Regions from separate parts of the Homo sapiens genome. Here all the other regions are linked to region 5. The links are contacts of gene promoters, found by promoter capture Hi-C in blood cells and fetal thymus (Javierre and others, 2016). All regions are on one chromosome and are shown on one strand. The core of a region is centred on a gene start or on the middle of the fragment in contact, and the rest is flanking DNA. Distances in the headings are between cores, read along the strand shown.

Region 1 (3,434 bases), core at 672-3,171, 350 kb before region 5:
GTTGTTGATTGTCAACCATCATAGTTTGCAAATTACATGAGAACAAAAATCTTATTTACCTCATTTGCTACTTTATCTCTACTCTCTTCAGTATATATATGGTAGATGATCAAAATTATGAGGAATAAGAGTAAAATAAATGAAGGAAGGGAGGAAGAGAGGGAGGGAGAGAGGAAAGAAAGGAAGGTAAAGAGAGGAGGAAAGGAACAAAGGAAGGAAAGAATGGAGAAACGGAGGGAGGGAGGGAGGGAAGAAAGGAGGGAGGGAAGTAAGAGAGGAGAGGAGGAAAGAGGAAGGAAAGGAAGGAAGTGGAGTAGGGAAGGAAATAAAAGTAAGGAAAACAAAAGGAAGGAAGGGGTAGGGGCAGAAATGACGGATTCAAAGTCCCTGCCTTAGGAAACAGGAAAAACAATAGTAATTAAGTAACAGAATAGCTGGAGAGTTCATGGCAGCAAGCCGTCTAGCTTTGGCTATTTACAATGCTAGAACAATCATCTCCCCATCACCAATTCAAGGACGCGCTTATAAAGCTTCCTTGAATATCCCCATCCCTGTCACCTCCACTCCCCAACCCAGTGAAATGAAAAATAGAAGAAGTGCAAATTAAGCTCTTTATTACAATTAGCAGCTGAACACAGGCATCACCTGTCTTGCTGTAATGTGATATTCCATCGGAGATGTTCATAATCATAACCCAATGAGGGAGACTGTGAACCAATTCACTGCCTGTTTTTCAACAGCTTTATATGAAATGATTTTTATTACTTGCACTCGCTAGCTATCTCCAAGGAACTCAAGGCAATTTACAAACTTTTAATTCTCATGACACCCTGGCAGTGTAGGAGGTAAGAGTCTAGAATTTATAGATGAAAGGAGAAGAGCCATGCAACAGGATTAAGTGTCTTTCTCTGCTGAGACAGGAGAGACTCACCCTGTCCCCAGAGACCGCCCTTTGTAAGCTGAAGGGAGGGTATTTACAGTGATATTCCCAAAATCCATCTCAGCAGAGACATCAGGGCAAAATCTAGGCTGGAAAGAGTGAAGGTAAGTGAAATGGAAGGCAGTAGTGATAGCAGGTATGGGCTTAATCATTGGTAAAGAGGAAAGAGGCAGGAAAGCAGGAAAGATTTCTTTTATTTTATTTTATTATTATATACTTTAAGTTTTAGGGTACGTGTGCACAATGTGCAGGTTAGTTACATATGTATACATGTGCCATGCTGGTGTGCTGCACCCATTAACTCGTCATTTAGCATTAGGTATATCTCCTAATGCTATCAGAGGGCAGAATGGAACATGGCAGGGTCTGGGAGGGGCTTGTACCGGGAACACCAGGAGTGAGGATCGTCCCTTCCAAGATAGGAGGAGAAGCACAAAGGGTGCAGAGAGAGAGCAGATATTTGAAAGGAGCATTTTAGAAAAAGAACCAAAACCAGAAATCGCAACTTTAAAGATGAGGAAGCCAATAATCAGAGAAGAAATGTAACTTGCCTGAGTCACACAGTGAGCTATGATGGAGAAGAAACGAGAACCCTGAGTTCACTCTGCTACCCTACATGGAAAAAGGAAGTAGTGTTGCTTGGAGGGCCTCCATTTTTCCCCAATAAAATAGGGTGAAGAAAGATTGGGAGCTCAAGAGAGGCAAAAGAAGAGTAGATTTTCCTTCTAAGAATGACACTGGATAATTGGATTTGACATTAGATACTGGGTTTGTCCAGCCACGTTGGTATCCAGCTGAGATGTATACTATATGAATTTTTAGTATAGGTGAATCAGCAGGTATCCCTCACTTTATGGCATAGATATCGCATCTCCGTGTCTTAACACCATACTGATTTCTCATGTACTTCACTGCGCAGTGCAGGTAAACAGGAGATTCTGCTCCATCCAGTCACCCAGGAACCAGAATCCTTGCATCAAAAGCTGTGGTGCCCAATGTGGCAGCCATACCCACGTAGGGCAGTTTAAATGAATTAAAATTAAATAAAGTAAAAAATGCAGTTTTTCAGTCACATTCGCTCCATTTCCAGCGCTCAGTGAGCACATGATTATCATAGTGGATAGCAGAGGCATGGAAAGTTGCATCACCGTGGAAAGTTCTGTTGGGCAGTGCTGCCCTCTGCCAGATCTCTGGCATGCAGCCAGCAGGAAATAAGAGAAAAGGCCTGGATGATGATGTAGGAGGTTTTGTGGGTCAGGTCTGGAGGTGCCACACATCCCTTTTGCCTACGCTCCACAGCCAGAGTTTGGTCACATGTTCATACCCCGTAAGGGAGGCAGGGAAATATAGTTGAGCTGTGTGCCCAGGAAGAAAAGGAAATGGGTTTAGTGAGCATTTGCCAGTTTCTGCCACAGTATATTCTAGCAAATTCCTAAAATAAAAACCTAATTTCCCAACTGAGTTCTGGAACAAAATCAGATTGATGATCCTAAAAGGAGAGTCTCTCCCCACAGACCGTTTTAAATTTTAAATGAGGAAGAGTTAAGATGGTGGTCAGGCTCCTGCTCAGTCAGAGTTTTCTAAAGGCATTTGCCACACACATACTTTCTTAGTTCTAAGCACTCCCAACTGCTCCGTTTACTACTTCTGCTTCCTTTCTGCCCCCGCTTGCCTCATCATCATACCTGTGTAGAGATAAATGAATCAGCATTCACCAGGGAATCTTAGCTCCCTTCTAATTTTTCTGTGCACCTACCACATCCAAAGGATGTATTTGACCTTGAATGAGTTCAATTAAACAACCTTCACTGGACTGTGCTATATGCATGAGCTACATGCAAGTGGGGCTGTGGGGAATAAAGAAGTGAAAGACACTATAACTCAAGGAAAGTTGGAAGTAAGTATAACAATTGGGCTGAGATAAATGCCTGAAAAGAGATACCAATGGGGAAGTTCAAAGGAATGAGAGATGCGGCCCCGGGGGGAAAGCAGAGAAAGATCCCATTAAGGAGAACACATTACAATATGGACTGTGAACACGGCCTGATTTGAACAGGCTGGAATGTGGGGAGGAGGTCCCCAGAAGAGGAGGCAGCTGTCCTGGCCTTGTCTTAAGACAAGATGGCTGGCTGTGTACTCAGAGCCAGTCTCTGGAGAGGAGTCACTTCTCCAGCTTCATCCCACCACCTAAGCCTCCGCCCCTTCTGCATGAGTCCCACTTTACAACACAGGAACCACCATTCCCTGCATCTGACTAGCAAGATAAGACCAGATCAGCTGGAGCAGAGCACCTGAGCAATGGGCTGAGCTAAAGGTTGGGTCAAGCCATGCCCTTAAAGGAAACATTGATTATGAAGCACACGGGAAGCTTTAAAGGACCACACACATTTGAGAGAAGATTGTTATTGCTATTTGCTAAGGTATTTGTACAGAGCAGAGTGGAAAATAAGGTGGTTGGTCAAGGAGTAATATTAGGCCATCCCTAACTCACTTC
Region 2 (3,373 bases), core at 141-2,640, 370 kb before region 5:
TCCCTGAAAGTTCTGAGTTCAGCAAAGAAATCTCCACTGCATAGACCACCAAGCACATTGGCTAAGAGATAGTGGACAGAAATGGAACTGATGAACACTACGAGGTGAGTGGTAGGCATACAAGTGTCCCCAAGCTGGCCCTGAGCTATCTTGGCTCTGTACCCTCTGTCTGCCATAGGCTGGATGAGGGTAAAGATGTCCTAATTCCCACCTGTTAGAAATTAAAAGTTATAAGATGGAAACAAATTTTGAGATATGATACTCTACAACTTATATATCGTGTTGAGTTAATTCTAAAAATGATTCTCTTGAGAGAGAACTGATACAGTAAAATGGGTTTCCTGCCCAGCAATAGGAATGGCAGGGAATGACCTACTCAGCATACTCACCCGCCTACTCTGAGAGGAAACATTCCCTGTGCAGAAATAAATATTCATCTAGGGATTTTTCTTAGCTGAGCCAGCCTGCTACCTGACTGAAAAAGGAGGAGTAAAAGCTGGGCATGATTTTCATTTACCATGACTTCCTAAGACCGCACTTCTCAATCTCTAATGTACATCAGAACCATCTACATTGCTGGTTAAAAATGCAGATTCCTGGATGTCTCTTCAGAGATTCTCATGCAGTAGATCTTGGGTGGGTTCAGGAACCTACATTGTTAATAGACACCCTTTCCCCCTAGGAACCATGTCTTCAAACACTGTCCTAAAAGCAGTGTGTCAGCCTGAGAGGTTGTGCTAAGTTGGTAAGAGGTATTGTCCTGGATGAGTCAGGTTGCTAAAAGCCACTAGAACAGTGTCCTTCTCAATCATTTCCAGTCTATATCATGAAAAGAACATAGCAAAACACACCCAGGAAGTGTTCCCTGACCCACCCCCACTCCCTGCAAAGCTCTATTCTCCCCTGGACTGGCATCAGTTTTTGCCTACCCCACATTCCTCTCCATGTGCCTATGTTGTTATGGTGACTGTTCAAGGATGGGCTAATGTCCAACAGCAATTTAACAGGCTGGTGCATTCTGAATGTAAACCAAGACTCAAGGAAAACACAGCTTCAAATATGGAGTGTGCACTAAGTCAGTCTGAGTCTCTGCGGAGGAGTTGAAAGAGTCCGTATTCTGGTATCAGAAGCTCTGGGTTCAGGCTACATTTCTGCCACTTGCTAGTCAAGCAACCTTTAGCTTGACTTCTCTAGGTCAGTTTTCTCACATAAACAATGAGGATAATAATATAACCTGCCCTACAGAAGCCTGTGATAAGAATCAACATAGTATCTGGGGAGGAACTTGGAACTGTAAGTTAGGTAAATATGGGGCAAAAAAATAGAAGTTAGGAGCCTACGCTCTGAAGCTGGGTATGAATCCCAACTCCACGCTCACCAACTGAATCCCTCGGCAAATTACATAGCCTTGCATATCTTAATCTGTAAAATGATCATACATCATTTTACAGATTAAGTAGATACATGTAAAGTAGATACATCCACTTTGGGAGGCTGAGGCGGGTGGATCAAAAAGTCAGGAGTTTGAGACCAGCCTGGCCAAGATGGTGAAACTCTGTCTCTACTAAAAAGACAAAAAAATTAACCGGGCATGCTGGCAGGTGCCTGTAATCCCGGCTACTCAGGAGGCTGAGGCAGAGAATTTCTTGAACCCAGGAGGTAGAAGTTATAGCAAGCCGAGATCGCGCCACTTCACTCCAGCCTGGGAGACAGAACGAGACTCCATCTCAAAAAAAGAAAAAAAAGAAAGGTAGATACATCATAAAGTTGTGAGAATTAAATACAGAAGCTCATAGAACAGCACCTGGCCATAAAAAATGCCCAATAAATATTAGCTACCATTTTTATTATGTAAAATAACTTATGTTTGTATTAAACAACCTCAAAATATCTATAGCTTAATAAAATAAAAACTTATTTCTCTCCAATATCACTGTCTAATGATGCAAGTTGGCCTGGAAGATGGGAAAGAGAGACTCTGCTCTACATAGTCATTCAGGGAACCAGGTTCCTTTCATTCAGTGGCTCTGCCATCCCCTGGGGAAGGGTTAAGCAAATTTTTTTCTTAAAGGGTTAGATAGTAAATATTTTAGCCATTGCAGGCCATAAGATCTTAGTTGCAACTACACAACTCTGCCTTTTCAGTGTGAAAGCAGCATAGACAATATATAAACAAATGGATACGGCTGTATTTCAATAAAATTTTTTATTTACAAAAACAGGCACCTGGTCCTGCTAACACCCAAGCCCTGGGCCTCAGAGTCTTCCTAAACTCTTTTTCTCTCCAGCTGGGAGACAAAGAAAAAGACTAAGCACTTGAAAGATTTTGCATGAGGCTTACAGGCAAGGCCTAGAAGTGGTGTATATCAACTCTCCACATTCCATTAGCCAGAATTCAGTCACCTGGCCCTGCTTAACCACTGGAGAGCAGAAATGTAGTAATTGTAAGCATTCAGTAAGTGCTTATAAAAGGAAGGAGTGAGGGGAGGAGAGAGGGAGAAAGGTAAACAGGTACGGAGGAAAGAAGATATTTTGCAGTTTCCCATACTTTTCTAAGGAACTTAAGGGAGGTAGAAAACTAAGGACAGAAAACTACTCCTTGGACAGTCTCTGGAAGGAAAAGTCACTAGGAGTCAGTAATAGTTAACTGGAAAGAAAACAAAATGCTACAACCCCTTGGACTTGGAGAAACAAATTGAAATGCCAGTTATCTAGACTGGGATAGAGAAGGGCTAGGGGCTAACTTCCAGAAGCCTCTATATAGTCCCTGAAGGGTGTTTGTCCAAACCACTGCAGCATCAGGCTCAGACAATGGCATCTGCAATGCTGCAAAATCTTCTCCAATAGCCTCTTTTCTATCAAAACATTTCTCAAGTATCAATCCCAGTAGCACTGGGGATCTCCAATTAGAGCCTCGTAATATCCCTCCCACCCACTCAGACCAAGATTACCTGAAGTGATTTTCTTGGAGGTGATTGTCTTTTAAAGGGAGTACGTTGGTACTGCAGTAAAGTTATGGACAGCACTGTTTGTGCTGGCAGATTAAATCTCCTCTCTGAGTAGGGTCATAACAGCAGCACAGGCTTTCAAAGGTACTAGCCCAGGGGCAACCCCTCATGCTGCAGCTCTAAGTAGGGAACACGGTTTGGACTGGGAGAGCCAGTCTGAGTTGCCACCTAGGGAAACAAGAACAAAGCCCAAAGCTGGACATATGGGGCCTACAATGTGGTCTTCATGGAGGACACCTCACAGCCCTCGAGTGCCTCACATGTTGGCCAGTTGTGAACCTCTGTGCTGGTGGCCTGAGCTCTTCCCCATCTGGCTGCCAGGCCTGGCCCCTTCTGGTCAGATTCCATCTGACCTATCTCAGAAC
Region 3 (3,723 bases), core at 561-3,060, 390 kb before region 5:
GTTATGAAAGAGGGCCATGGGTTAGAGTAATATTGATACGCAATCAGTCTTCCTGGGGTCAGTCCTCCCCATCAAAGGAACTTTGGTTTGAAAGCAGGCACCTCCCTGAGACAACTACACCCAACACAGCTTGGTGAGTGTCACTGTCCTGCAGCAGAACCAGAATCACAAACCCACCACTGGGGCCCAAGAGCAGCACACACCAACCATCACCACCACCTGGACACTAAAACTCCCATTCCTGCCCCCACTCCCAGCCTGTTTCTCTCCCCTACCCCACAGCAGGCACAAAGGGATCCCTGAAGGAACTTCTGAATTCACAAGCCTCTTGCAAGCGCCCCTCCACCCCACCCAGAAAGGCACCAGGGCTCTCCACTCTGTGCCGGATGCCCCTAGCTGAGCCACAGTGTCCCCAGAGCCTTGCCCTAGCTCTGGATAAAACCGAAGCTGTCAGCATGCTAATTAGGACCTTGAGAGGGTGGGCTCATGGACTGACAATTAATAACTCCATCTCTCTGTTTCCTGCTGGCATATTATTAATTCATCGGGCCTCTCCAGTGGGGCCAGAGAGATAACACAGACTGTGAAAGTTCACATTTCAATTTGAGGCTGAGATGCTGAGGAGGGGTGTTGAGAGAAGTGCCAGTCCTCCGGAGAGTGAGGGCATAGCGTGGGAAAGACTTGTCCACAGTCCCACTTCTAGGACTTGACCCTACAGAAATGAAAGTGCACATCCTAAAGGCATGTAGGGGAGGCTTACTACAGCACAGCTGGTAACTGCAAAGCAACTGGGAACATCCATTGATAGGGTTGCTGGAATAAACTGTGGTTCAGTCATGCTGAGGAATACTCTGCAGCGTGAAAGAGATGTTATGGACATCTTTCCAGAAATGGCCAAAGAAAGATGCACACCATATCCTGTAATTTTTAAAAACTAAAAGAATAAGAGCAAAACAAAGACCTATATGTGTAATATAATTTCATGTTCATCACAGAAAGAGGGAAGGGGAGGAGGGAGGGAGGGAGGGGGAATTTTTCCCAGCTTAAGTATAAACACAGGGGAAAGAAGCAACCATAACAGATGGCAGCTGGGGGAGGGGCTGAGATGAGAGAGGAGTTGAGATGGGGAGAGGTTGAGGTGGGGGAGGGGTTGAGATGGAGGAGGAGTTGAGATGGGGGAGGAGTTGCAATGGTAGAGGAGTTGAGGTGGGGGAAGGGTTGAAGTTGGAGAGGAGTTGAGGTGGGGGAGGGGTTGAAGTTGGGGAGGGGTTGAGATGGAGGAGGAGTTGAGGTAGAGAGCAGTTGAGATGGGGAAGTCTTGAGATGGGGAAGGGTTGAGGTGGGAGGGGTTAGGATGAGGAAGAGGCTGAGATGAGGGAGAAGTTGAGGTGGAGGGGGTTGAGATGGAGAAGGAATGAGGTGAGGAGGGGTTAAGATGGGGGAGGAGTTGAGATGGCGGTGGAATTGAGATGGGAGGGGTTGGGACGGGCAGGGGTAGAGATAGGGAAGGAGTTGAGATGAGTGAGGTTGAGATGGGGCAGAGGTTGAGATGGGTGAGGGTTGAGATGGGTGTGGTGAGATGGGTAGAGTTCAGATGAGGTAGGCTTGAGATGGGGAGAGGGTGAAATAGGGAGGCGTTGAGATGAGTGTGGTTGAGATGTTGAAGGGTCAAGTTGGGGAGACACTGAGATGGAGAGGGGTTGAGTTGTGAAGGGGTTGAGATAGGAAGGGATTGAGTAAGGAAGGGGTTGAGTTGTGAAGGGGTTGAGATGGGAAGGGGTAGAGATGTGAAGAAGCTGAGGTGGGAAGGGGCTGAGATGGGAAAGGGTTGAGATGGGAAGGGGTTGAGTTGTGAAGGGGTTGAGATGGGCAGCGGTTGAGCTGTGAAGGGTTGAGATGGGAAGGGGTTGAGTTGTGAAGGGGTTGAGATGTGAAGGGGTTGAGTTGTGAAGGGGTTGACATGTGAAGGGGTTTAGATGGGAAGGAGTTGAGATGGGAAGGGGTTGAAATAGGAAGGGGTTGAGTTGTGAAGGGGTTGAGATTGACAGGGGTTGAGACGGGAAGGGGCTGAGTTGTGAAGGGGTTGAGATGGGAAGGGGTTGAGATGGGAAGGGGTTGAGTTGTGAAGGGGTTGAATTGTAAAGGGGTAGAGATGGGAAGGGGTTGAGATGGGAAGGGGTTGAGTTGGGAAGGGGTTGAGATGGGAAGGGATTGAGTTGTGAAGGGGTTAAGTTGTGAAGTGGTTGAGATGGGAAGGGGTTCTGTTGTTAAGGGGTTGAGTTGTGAAGGGGTTGAGACAGGAAGGGGTTGAGTTTTGAAGGGAATGAGATGGGAAGGGGTTGAGTTGTGATGGGGCCATGATGGGAATGGGGTTGAGTTGTGAAGGGGTTGAGTTGTGAAGTGGCTGAGATGGGAAGCGGTTGAGATGGGAAGGGGTTGAGATGAGCTGGGTTGAGTTAGGGAAGGGTTCAGATGAGGAGGAGTTTAATTGATAAGGGTTGACATAGGAAGGGCTTGAGACGGATAGTGGCTGAAATGGGGAGGACTTGAGATGGAGAGAGGTTGGGTTGAGGAAGGGTTGAGATGGGGTAGGACTGGGTTGGGGAATTGTTGAGATGGAGTGACAGGAGGGGGATGCAGTTAGACCTGACCACCTGACCCCAGTGCACCCAAGCTGGGTGTGTCCAGCCAACACTGTCTCCACACCAGGAGCACTGTCCCCAGAACTGACCACTGGTCTGTCCTACTCCAAGAGCAGAAAGAGAATTTACTGAATTCCTCTGTTTTCTTTATAAATTTGGGAAGGGTTGCAGGTTCCTCATCACCTGATCAGCAGGCAGTAATGCTGCCTTTTTAGAACAGCAGTGAGGCTGAGTAGTGGGATGTGAGCACAGCTGCAGAGGGTCTGCAAGGAGGTCCCCAGGAGAGGCGGGGGCAGGGACAGAGGGGAAAGGGGGACAAGCCCTCTTCCTCACTCACACGCCAACCCTGCATGCCTTCATTCCCTCCCTGCTACAGGCTTCGAGAGAAAAAGAGGAAGAGAAAGATGGTTAAAGGAGCTAAAAGCAGAAGAGAAGAGAAGGAGGACAGTGTGGCTGGGGTATGAGCGGCTGAGGTGGGGTCCTCAGAAGGGTGCCCCACGCCCACCTCCTTCTCTGCGCCTCAGCCTTCTCACCTGCACCTTCAATGAGAAGTTATGTGCGATTAATTTTAAAGGTCTTTTCATCGGTGCCTGGAATTCTATAGGTGTCTAACTCTGCTTGGGGTCGGGGGGGGGAGCGGGGGTGTACAGCAATTTCATAAATATTTTTTTCAGCCAAAAAGGCCAAAGCGAATTCCTCCAATTATGTTCACCTCCTCCACAATGAGCACTTCCTTTTCTGCACGTGTCTTCACCCATCCCCTCACATCCAAGAGGAAAACGCCTTTGGCTCATTTGCAGCCATGGGTCCAGGCAAGCCCTTAAAGATGGCAAGGGGTTGCCAGTGGTCAGGGAGGGGGAAGGCCCTGGACTGCGGTGGGAGTCTCGGGGCGCTCATCGTGCCCTGCCAAGGCCCTTCTCCTCCTGGCTTCGCTTTCCTTTCTTGTGATGTGAGTGCTGACCACCAGGCTGCCCCAGCCCCTCCAGCTACACAGCGGAAAGCATCCCAGTGAGACTGCGGCTGCAATACACAGAAACAACCACTTGGGGGCACCATAAAAGAAGAAAAAATATCTCTTCTG
Region 4 (3,501 bases), core at 897-3,396, 490 kb after region 5:
ATGGAAACAGTGTGGTATAACACTGTGGGCCTTGAGAAAGGTGCTTAAAAGTTATGACAGCCTATCTATCATATGTCTAGAGGTGACTAAGGTCATTCTGCAGCATCTTTTTTCTCTCTTGTATAGTCCCTGCCTGGTTAGTCAGCTGTGGCTGCGCACAAGCATCTGTTACCTTGGGGGAAGGGGTAATATAGGTCTTTTTATGATCTGCCAAAGCCAATCAATGATACTTTTAGCTCAAATATCTTTATTTATTTATTTTTTGTTTGTTTGTTTGGTTTGAGACAGGGTCTTGCTCTGTCACCCAGGCTGGAGTGCAGTGGTATGATCATGGTTCACTGCAGCCTCAACCTCCCAGGCTCAAGCAATCCTCCCATCTCAGCCTCCCAAGCAGCTGACACTATAAGCACACACTACCATACCTGGCTAAGTTTTAAAATTTTTTGTAGAGATGGGGGTCTCACTATGTTGCCCAGGCTGGTCTCAAACTCCTGCAGCCAAACAATCCTCCTGCTTTGGTCTCCCAAATCACTGGGATTACAGGCGTGAGCCACTGCGGCCCAGCTGAAAAATCTTTGGATCTCAGCACAAAGCCCGGGTAACCAGCTCCAAATCTTCCTTCTGTCCTGGTGAGTCTCTCTTTGGGGGTTATATAGAAAAAATAAACTGTTTTTCCCTATACTCATGCTCACTACAGAGCACTTCTGACGCCAGATGTGTGGGATTTTTTTCCCAACACCTATTCCTCACTTCTCAGAAGACACCAACCAGGTGTTCCACAAGTCAACTCAATTCTGACACTATCTACCTGAAGTTAGCATCTGATCTCACAAGCTAAGGGCATGATTTCATGAGACTGCCCCCTACCCTAGATGTCAACTGCAAGTGGTGAGTCCCCAGTTTACCCACAACTTTGCCTGACTTGGCTCCAGATCAGAGGTTCCCAGGACCCTCTCCACAGGTTTGACCGTTTGCTATTGCAGCTTGCAGAACTCAGGAGAACAGTTTCCTTACTAGATTACCAGTTTATTAGGACATATTAAAGAATACAAACAAACAACCACATGAAGAGACACATAGGGCAAGGTCTGGAAGGGTCTTGAGCATAGGAATCTTCTGTCTCCATGAACGAGTTCTGCCACCCTCTCAGTATGTGGGTGCAGTCTCGCTCACGAACACCAAAGCTCTCCAAACCCCATACTTTAGGGATTTGTATGGAGGCTTCATTAGGTAGGCATTACTAACTCAATCTCTAGCTCCTCTCCCCTCCCTGAAGGACAAAGGATGGGACTAAAAGTTTCCAGTGTCTACTCATGGGGCCCCAGAGGGCAGAGACCAAATATGTATTTCTCTCTCTGTTTTTTTGTTTTGTTTTGTTTTTTGTTTTGTTGTTGTTGTTGTTGTTTGTTTAGACAGGGTCTTGCTTTGTCACCAGGCTGGAGTGCAGTGGCACAACCATGGCCCACTACAACCTTGACCTCCAGGGTTCAATCAATCCTCTCACCTCAGCCTCCCAAGTAGCTGGGACTACAGGAGTGTACCACCATGCCCAGCTAATTTTTGTACTTTTTGTAGAGACAGTTTTTGCTATGTTGCCCAGTCCAGTCATGAACTCCTGGGTTCAAGCAATCCTCCCGCCTCTGCCACTCAAAGTGCTGGGATTACAGGCATGAGCCACTGTGCCCAGCCCAAATATGTATTTCTTACACGTCACAGGAATATTCTTTCCTCAGAGGGACTGGTTCATCCCTACCACAGCAGATCCAAAAGTATTGTCTGAGACCTGGCTCTGACAAACCCAGTCGGCTCCATTTCCCTGGAACCTTGGCAGTGCTCTGGTGAACGTGTGGCATAGGCAGGAAGCCCCTCGGCATGTAGCTGCCCTGGCTGGGCACTGAGAGTGTGAACAAACCTCAGAGTCAGGCCAGGAGTCCATCACAGCAGGGACCTGAGCTGGCAAGGACGTTGCTGCAGAGTAAACAAGTTCTGTTGGATTGTGCAGTGCCAGCTTTTGACAGCCCTGATTGACTGGCTTGGGTCATTTGCCTGCCCTGAACTAATGACAATGGTCAGAATGATGGTGTACTCAGATTGGCCAATCTGGGTCAGCATATTTCCCACTGGAGCCAGAAGAGGGATGGGGTACTGTGATTGACAACCTCACCAGGGCCTGAGGGGGTGAGGAGGGATATATTCCTAAAGAAAAGAGGGAGCGTGTCATTAAAATAAAAGGGGAACTGCCGGCCAGGGGCGGTGGCTCATGCCTGTAATCCCAGCACTTTGGGAGGCCGAGGCGGGCGGATTACCTGAGGTCAGGAGTTTGAGACCAGCCTGACCAACATGGAGAAACCCCGTCTCTACTAAAAATACAAAATTAGGCAGGTGTGGTGGTGCATGACTGTAATCCCAGCTACTCGGGAGGCTGAGGCTGGAGAATCGGTTGAACCCGGGAGGCAGAGGTTGCGGTGAGCCGAGATCACACCATTGCATTCCAGCCTGGGCAAAAAGAGCACAACTCCGTCTCAAAAAAAAAAAAAAGTAAAAGAGGAACTACCATTTCTTGGTGAACTATTCTTTCAATGCTTTCTCATTGCCTATGCAAGTCCAGTGTTTCTGCAAGATTCCCATTTCTTGCAGCAAGTGGAAGACTGACAAAGGGTTGCTGTATTTCTTCCTGCTCCAAGAAAAAGATTAACATTATTTTACTACAACCCACTTGGAACATTGCTCTGTTGAACTGTTAGTGGGAATACAACCTAGCTTTTCTTTACAAATATGGTTGAGTTACAAAATAATATGATGGACTAAAATAGAAAGGACACCAAATTCCTTTATGCTTCTCAAAATCAGGTGATTAATGGAAAAGACATCTGAGGAGAATATGGGAAGAAAATGGCATCATTCCCACGGCACAGAAAGGGGTCTTCTTCCAGGGGGCCAGGTGCAGTCACTATTTTATTAATTTTTATAAAATCCCAGAGTAGGGAGGGAAAAGATAAATATAGAAGTATGATTCTTCCTCTCCCTCTCCCTCTCCCCCTCCTCCCCCTCCCCTCTTCTTCTCTCCCCCTTTTTCTCCCTCCTCCCTCCTCCCCTCTTCTTCTCCCTCTCCCCCTCCTCCTCTCCCTCTCTCTCTCAATCCATTTCAGAAATTCAGGAACTGAGGCCAAGGTGGCACCGAGGAGTGTTCTTGGTTGCTATGGATATGTTCAGCATCTGACATTTTTTCTGAGTGGGGCCTGGGAGAGAGGAGATGTCTCTGATGCCTGAGTCATTAAGGGAATGTAGGTACTTTAGTCTTCTTCAGAGTGCCGTCTGAGAATAGACATGGCTGCATACTCTTCATCCACTTCTATTTGTCCAGTAGATTCAGAGAAACAGTGCTCAGCCACGTTGTAGATAATTTAAGTTTGTTTTCATCCTCCCTATTCCCAGGGCCCTCTGCTGTCTCTAGTTTTTGCCAGCAAGGGAAGGAAGAACGTGATCTTAGTCCTTTCTGCA
Region 5 (3,905 bases), core at 1,122-3,621:
ACCTTAATGAAGGGACTCCTTGCAGAGATATGGTCAAGGTTAACGGAACAAACAAGGATGATGGGCATCTGCAGGCTAACAACTATGGGAAGCCATTATCACCCCTAGGGCTTAAGAGATAAGAATAGCAAATACCGTTACTGAAGCCCAATGGGAGCTAGAACCATGAAGAAGGGGTTATTCAGGGAAGACAGCATTACAGAAGAACATAGCTACTGCCAAAGACATCACAGAAAGTGGGGAAGGAGCAAGAAAGATGTATCCCAGCCTCTCTTTCCTCCCTGCTCTCTGACATCTCTCCTTTCAGTGTCTCCCATTGTATGAACCCAAGCAGAAATCAGCTTGCAAGAGAGTCTAGGTGATGCAGTCTAGCAGTCAGCCTCAAGGACACAGAACAGAACAGAGAAGGATGCACTCTAAGGAGTCAGAAGGAGAACAGCCAGCACCAAGTGACCTTCCCTTGCCTTTATAACTTACTTGTTTTATTTCCTGTCCCCCCAATTATCAAAGTGACAAGTCTTCACACCCAAAGGAGCAATGACATTGTGGAACAGCCCTGGACCGAGGGCCAGAAGATCTGCAGTCTCCTTCAGGTTGCTCCTTATGTGAGCGTGGTCACTCTCTAGGCCTAGAGAAAAATCTAGGCCTCATCTTTAAATGGGGATATTTTCTTCACCTACTACAAATAGTCAGTGAGATTGTCATAGGAGATAATATGTTTAAGGAATATTATTCCATATTATTGGAGAGTTCTTTGAGAATCACATGCAGGTAATATATAAGCTTTATTATTTCCAAAAATATCACCCTTTGCCTCTCTCCTCCTTTCCTCTTTCATCTTCTGCCTCTTACCCTCACCCCCAATCTTTCCCATAAATGATGACACTTTCTGGATTAAATTTTCATGGAAGCAGAGACTATGTTTGTCTTGTTCGCTGCCATATCCCCCAAAGTGCCTGGCACATAGTAGGCCATCAATCAATATTTGAACAATTAATATATGGATTTTTTTTTTTTGAGATGGAGTCTCACTCTGTCACCCAGGCTAGAGTGCAGTGGCATGATCTCGGCTCACTGCAACCTCCGCCTCCTGGGTTCAAGTGATTCTCCTGCCTCAGTCTCCCGAGTAGCTGGGATCACAGGTGCGCACTGTGCACAGCTAATTTTTTGTATTTTTAGTAGAGATGGGTGTGCCGAGCTAATTTTTTGTATTTTTAGTGAGATGGGGTTTCACTATGATGGCCAAGCTGGTTTCAAACTCCTGACCTCAAGCGATCCGTCTGCCTCGGCCTCTCAACGTGCTAGGATTACAGGTGTGAGCCACCACTCCCAGCCATATGATTTAAAATTTTTTTATTTGTATAAATTTATGATGTACACATGCAATTTTGTTATAGCATAGATTGTGTAGTGGTCAAGTTGGGGCTTTAAGGTATCCATCACCCAAGTAACACACATTGTACCCATTAAGTAATTTCTAATCATCCACCCCCCTCGCCCTTCCAAATCTCCATGGTCAGTCATTCCACTCTCTATGTGCATGGGTGATTTGAAAGAACTCCTTCCTCTCATGTTCATCAGTCACACCTATGGTGGTGGCCAAGTCTAAGTTCTGGACACTGCCCACCAGTACCAGTCCTCAGCCCAGGGAGCAAGTGATTAGGGCAGAGAAGCCTGGTGGTTCTAGCCCATGGGCCCTTTCCCCTATTTGAGGCAACAGAAGGCATTTGCTTCCCCAGTGACTTGAGCTCCCCGAATAATGAAAAACTCTCCCTTCTACTTGATTAATACTTCTCACAGTCAGTAAACAAACCCAGAGCCATGGTTTTATCTTTCTTGGATCTTTTATTACAGGTAGGGCTTGTGTTGAGGAAAAACATAAATAAACCTGAACAATGGATCTACTCCACTGTTAATGCCCCTGAAACTCTGACTACATCCTCATGAGACTCTGGAAGTTAGAAAAGAGGAGAAACAAAAGTAAAAGAAAAAATATGAGCAGAAAAGAAAGGAGGCCATGCTCAGAGGGAAAGTGAGGAAGTTCCAGAGTCTTTCTAGAACGGCTCCCCCTCCCTCAGAAGGTGGTGACATCAAAATCCTACAAATATGAACTGGGAAACTGTTCAGGCAATCCATTGCTCCTGGAGTCTGAGTGTAATACATACACGTTTCTGCCCCTGGCTTCTATATTTTTCACCACAAGTTTTAGGAAGAAAAGCTGTGCCTTCTAGGCTGCCTCGACTTTGGAGTTAGGAGAGAAGAGGACGTGGGATACTCACGGGAATCGCTGTGCTTCACCATTAACACAATGATGAGAGGTAACAGGAACGCCATCAGTTCCCCCATAGTCCTTCTCTTTCCGGGTTCTTTTAACCAAAAACTGACAGGTCCCTTCTGAGAACCTCTTGGTGACACACAAGGCCTTCTCCCAATAAGAACAGGGGAAGATATGCAGTGTCATCAGTTGCTAGGTTAAAAAAAAAAGATAAAATGAAAGCATGAACACCTTCTTCGGTAACTTTTAAGTCTTTGCTGGTTTCAGACACTGCTTGCTCCTTTTGGTGTATCTATCTTCACCCTATTCCCAATTTTTAAATATTTATGGAGCATAGTCATGTTCAAAGCACAGAGAAACAAAGATTAATCATATCTGGTCAATCAGGGAGCTCAAGCTGCTGCCTCTGCTTCCCTGGAGCTTAGAATTTTGCTTAAGGGTCAGTAAGAAAGAGTCACAGTTCCCACGGCTTGGAACTCCCTGCTCTGGCTCCCTATGATGCTGAAGTCTCTGTCTGAGATAGCAGGTGTCACTTAGATTGTCCCGTAATCTTCAACTTAGGTCTGTCCTCCCTGCTACTCTAGCACCCAGCACAATAAGCTCAAAACACTTACTGAATAAAAGAAGGCAAGAGAAAGGCCTACAGAAGATTCTGAGGGGCAGCCACTCAGCTTGCTCAATCAGCAATCCCCAAGATCAAGCTGTGGCTACACTGTCATAAGGAGCACATGACAAGCTGGAAAACAGCAGCTTAAGCTTGTCCAGGGAGCTAGGGAACAGGCCCAGACAGGAAAGAGGAAGTAGACATGAAGGGGAGAGGTGAATGGAGGCATGGCCATGAGGCAGGCAGGCTTGAGCTGGGTTCAGGGACCTGGGTTTGCCTCCCCACTATTTGACCATGGGCAGAATCCCAAATTGCACCAAGGCCTGATTTCTTCAACTTTAAAAGCAAATCCTGTCATATATTTCACAGAGTTGTTGAAGGATCAGAAGTTCTGTTTATGATGCATTTAGTAGGTAGTAGAACCTTATGTACCGGTTGTATGGTAGGTTGAGAATTGTCGCCCCAAAGATGTCCACAACCTAATTGCCAGAACCTGTGGATATATTACCTTAAATGGCAAAAACAAAATAAAACAAAACAAAACCCTTGGCAGATATGATTAAATTAAGGATCTTGAGACAGAGAGCTATCCTGGATTATCTGGTGGACCCAGTGTAATCAGAGGGGCCTTATTAGAGGGAGGCAAAAGGGTCAGAGTCAAGGAGATGTGACAATGGAAGCAAAGGTCAGAGTGATGATGCCATTGCTGAAAGAAGGACATGAGCCAAGGAACGCAGATGGCCTCTAGAACTAGAAAAGAGAAGGAACAGATTCTCCTTAGAGCCTCCAGAAGGAACACAACACTTTGATTTCAGCTGATAGGACACATTTTTGGACTTCTGTCCTCCAGAACTTTGAAAGAATAAATTTGCATTGTTCGAGGCCACTAAGTTGGTGGTAATTTGTTATAGCAGCAACAGGAAACTAATAGGTCTACCTTTACCCAGAATAAAATAAGAAGCCAAATAATGAAATTAACATTTGGCAATCTCTCAGCGGCCCCTGGCACCTTCTCTTCTCAGATCT

What was found. The method cuts DNA at HindIII sites, captures the fragments that hold promoters and counts their contacts. A CHiCAGO score of 5 or more calls a contact.
Region 1: a fragment that was not itself captured here is called in contact with the fragment with the promoter of MR1 in region 5 in 5 of 17 cell types (total CD4 T cells, activated CD4 T cells, naive CD4 T cells and 2 more); the score reaches 5.9 in total CD4 T cells.
Region 2: a contact is called between a fragment that was not itself captured here and the fragment with the promoter of MR1 in region 5, in 4 of 17 cell types (non-activated CD4 T cells, naive CD8 T cells, total CD4 T cells and 1 more). The highest score is 6.7, in non-activated CD4 T cells.
Region 3: a fragment that was not itself captured here is called in contact with the fragment with the promoter of MR1 in region 5 in 4 of 17 cell types (non-activated CD4 T cells, naive CD4 T cells, naive CD8 T cells and 1 more); the score reaches 7.8 in non-activated CD4 T cells.
Region 4: a contact is called between a fragment that was not itself captured here and the fragment with the promoter of MR1 in region 5, in 4 of 17 cell types (naive B cells, total B cells, megakaryocytes and 1 more). The highest score is 7.9, in naive B cells.

What each region holds. Positions count from the first base shown.
Region 1 is chr1:181,382,606-181,386,039 of GRCh38, reverse strand. It overlaps a transcript of CACNA1E not described here. Among named protein-coding and RNA genes, the nearest start is that of CACNA1E, 99 kb to the left of the region's middle. The HindIII fragment of the contact is 2,778 bases long and covers 533-3,310 here.
Region 2 is chr1:181,404,771-181,408,143 of GRCh38, reverse strand. It overlaps a transcript of CACNA1E not described here. Among named protein-coding and RNA genes, the nearest start is that of CACNA1E, 77 kb to the left of the region's middle. The HindIII fragment of the contact is 4,079 bases long and covers 1-3,373 here.
Region 3 is chr1:181,425,086-181,428,808 of GRCh38, reverse strand. The region is part of intron 1 of LOC107985232 (a long non-coding RNA gene); the gene reads right to left. It also overlaps a transcript of CACNA1E not described here. Among named protein-coding and RNA genes, the nearest start is that of CACNA1E, 57 kb to the left of the region's middle. The HindIII fragment of the contact is 6,743 bases long and covers 1-3,723 here.
Region 4 is chr1:180,542,711-180,546,211 of GRCh38, reverse strand. No RefSeq gene overlaps it. Among named protein-coding and RNA genes, the nearest start is that of OVAAL, 15 kb to the left of the region's middle. The HindIII fragment of the contact is 6,574 bases long and covers 1-3,501 here.
Region 5 is chr1:181,032,449-181,036,353 of GRCh38, reverse strand. It overlaps MR1 (major histocompatibility complex, class I-related), which reads right to left and starts at 2,371. Exons shown (of 6, transcript NM_001385161.1): 1 at 2,280-2,371. The coding sequence starts at 2,346. RefSeq lists enhancers at 2,462-2,571, 2,702-2,801, 3,002-3,191. The HindIII fragment of the contact is 2,248 bases long and covers 786-3,033 here.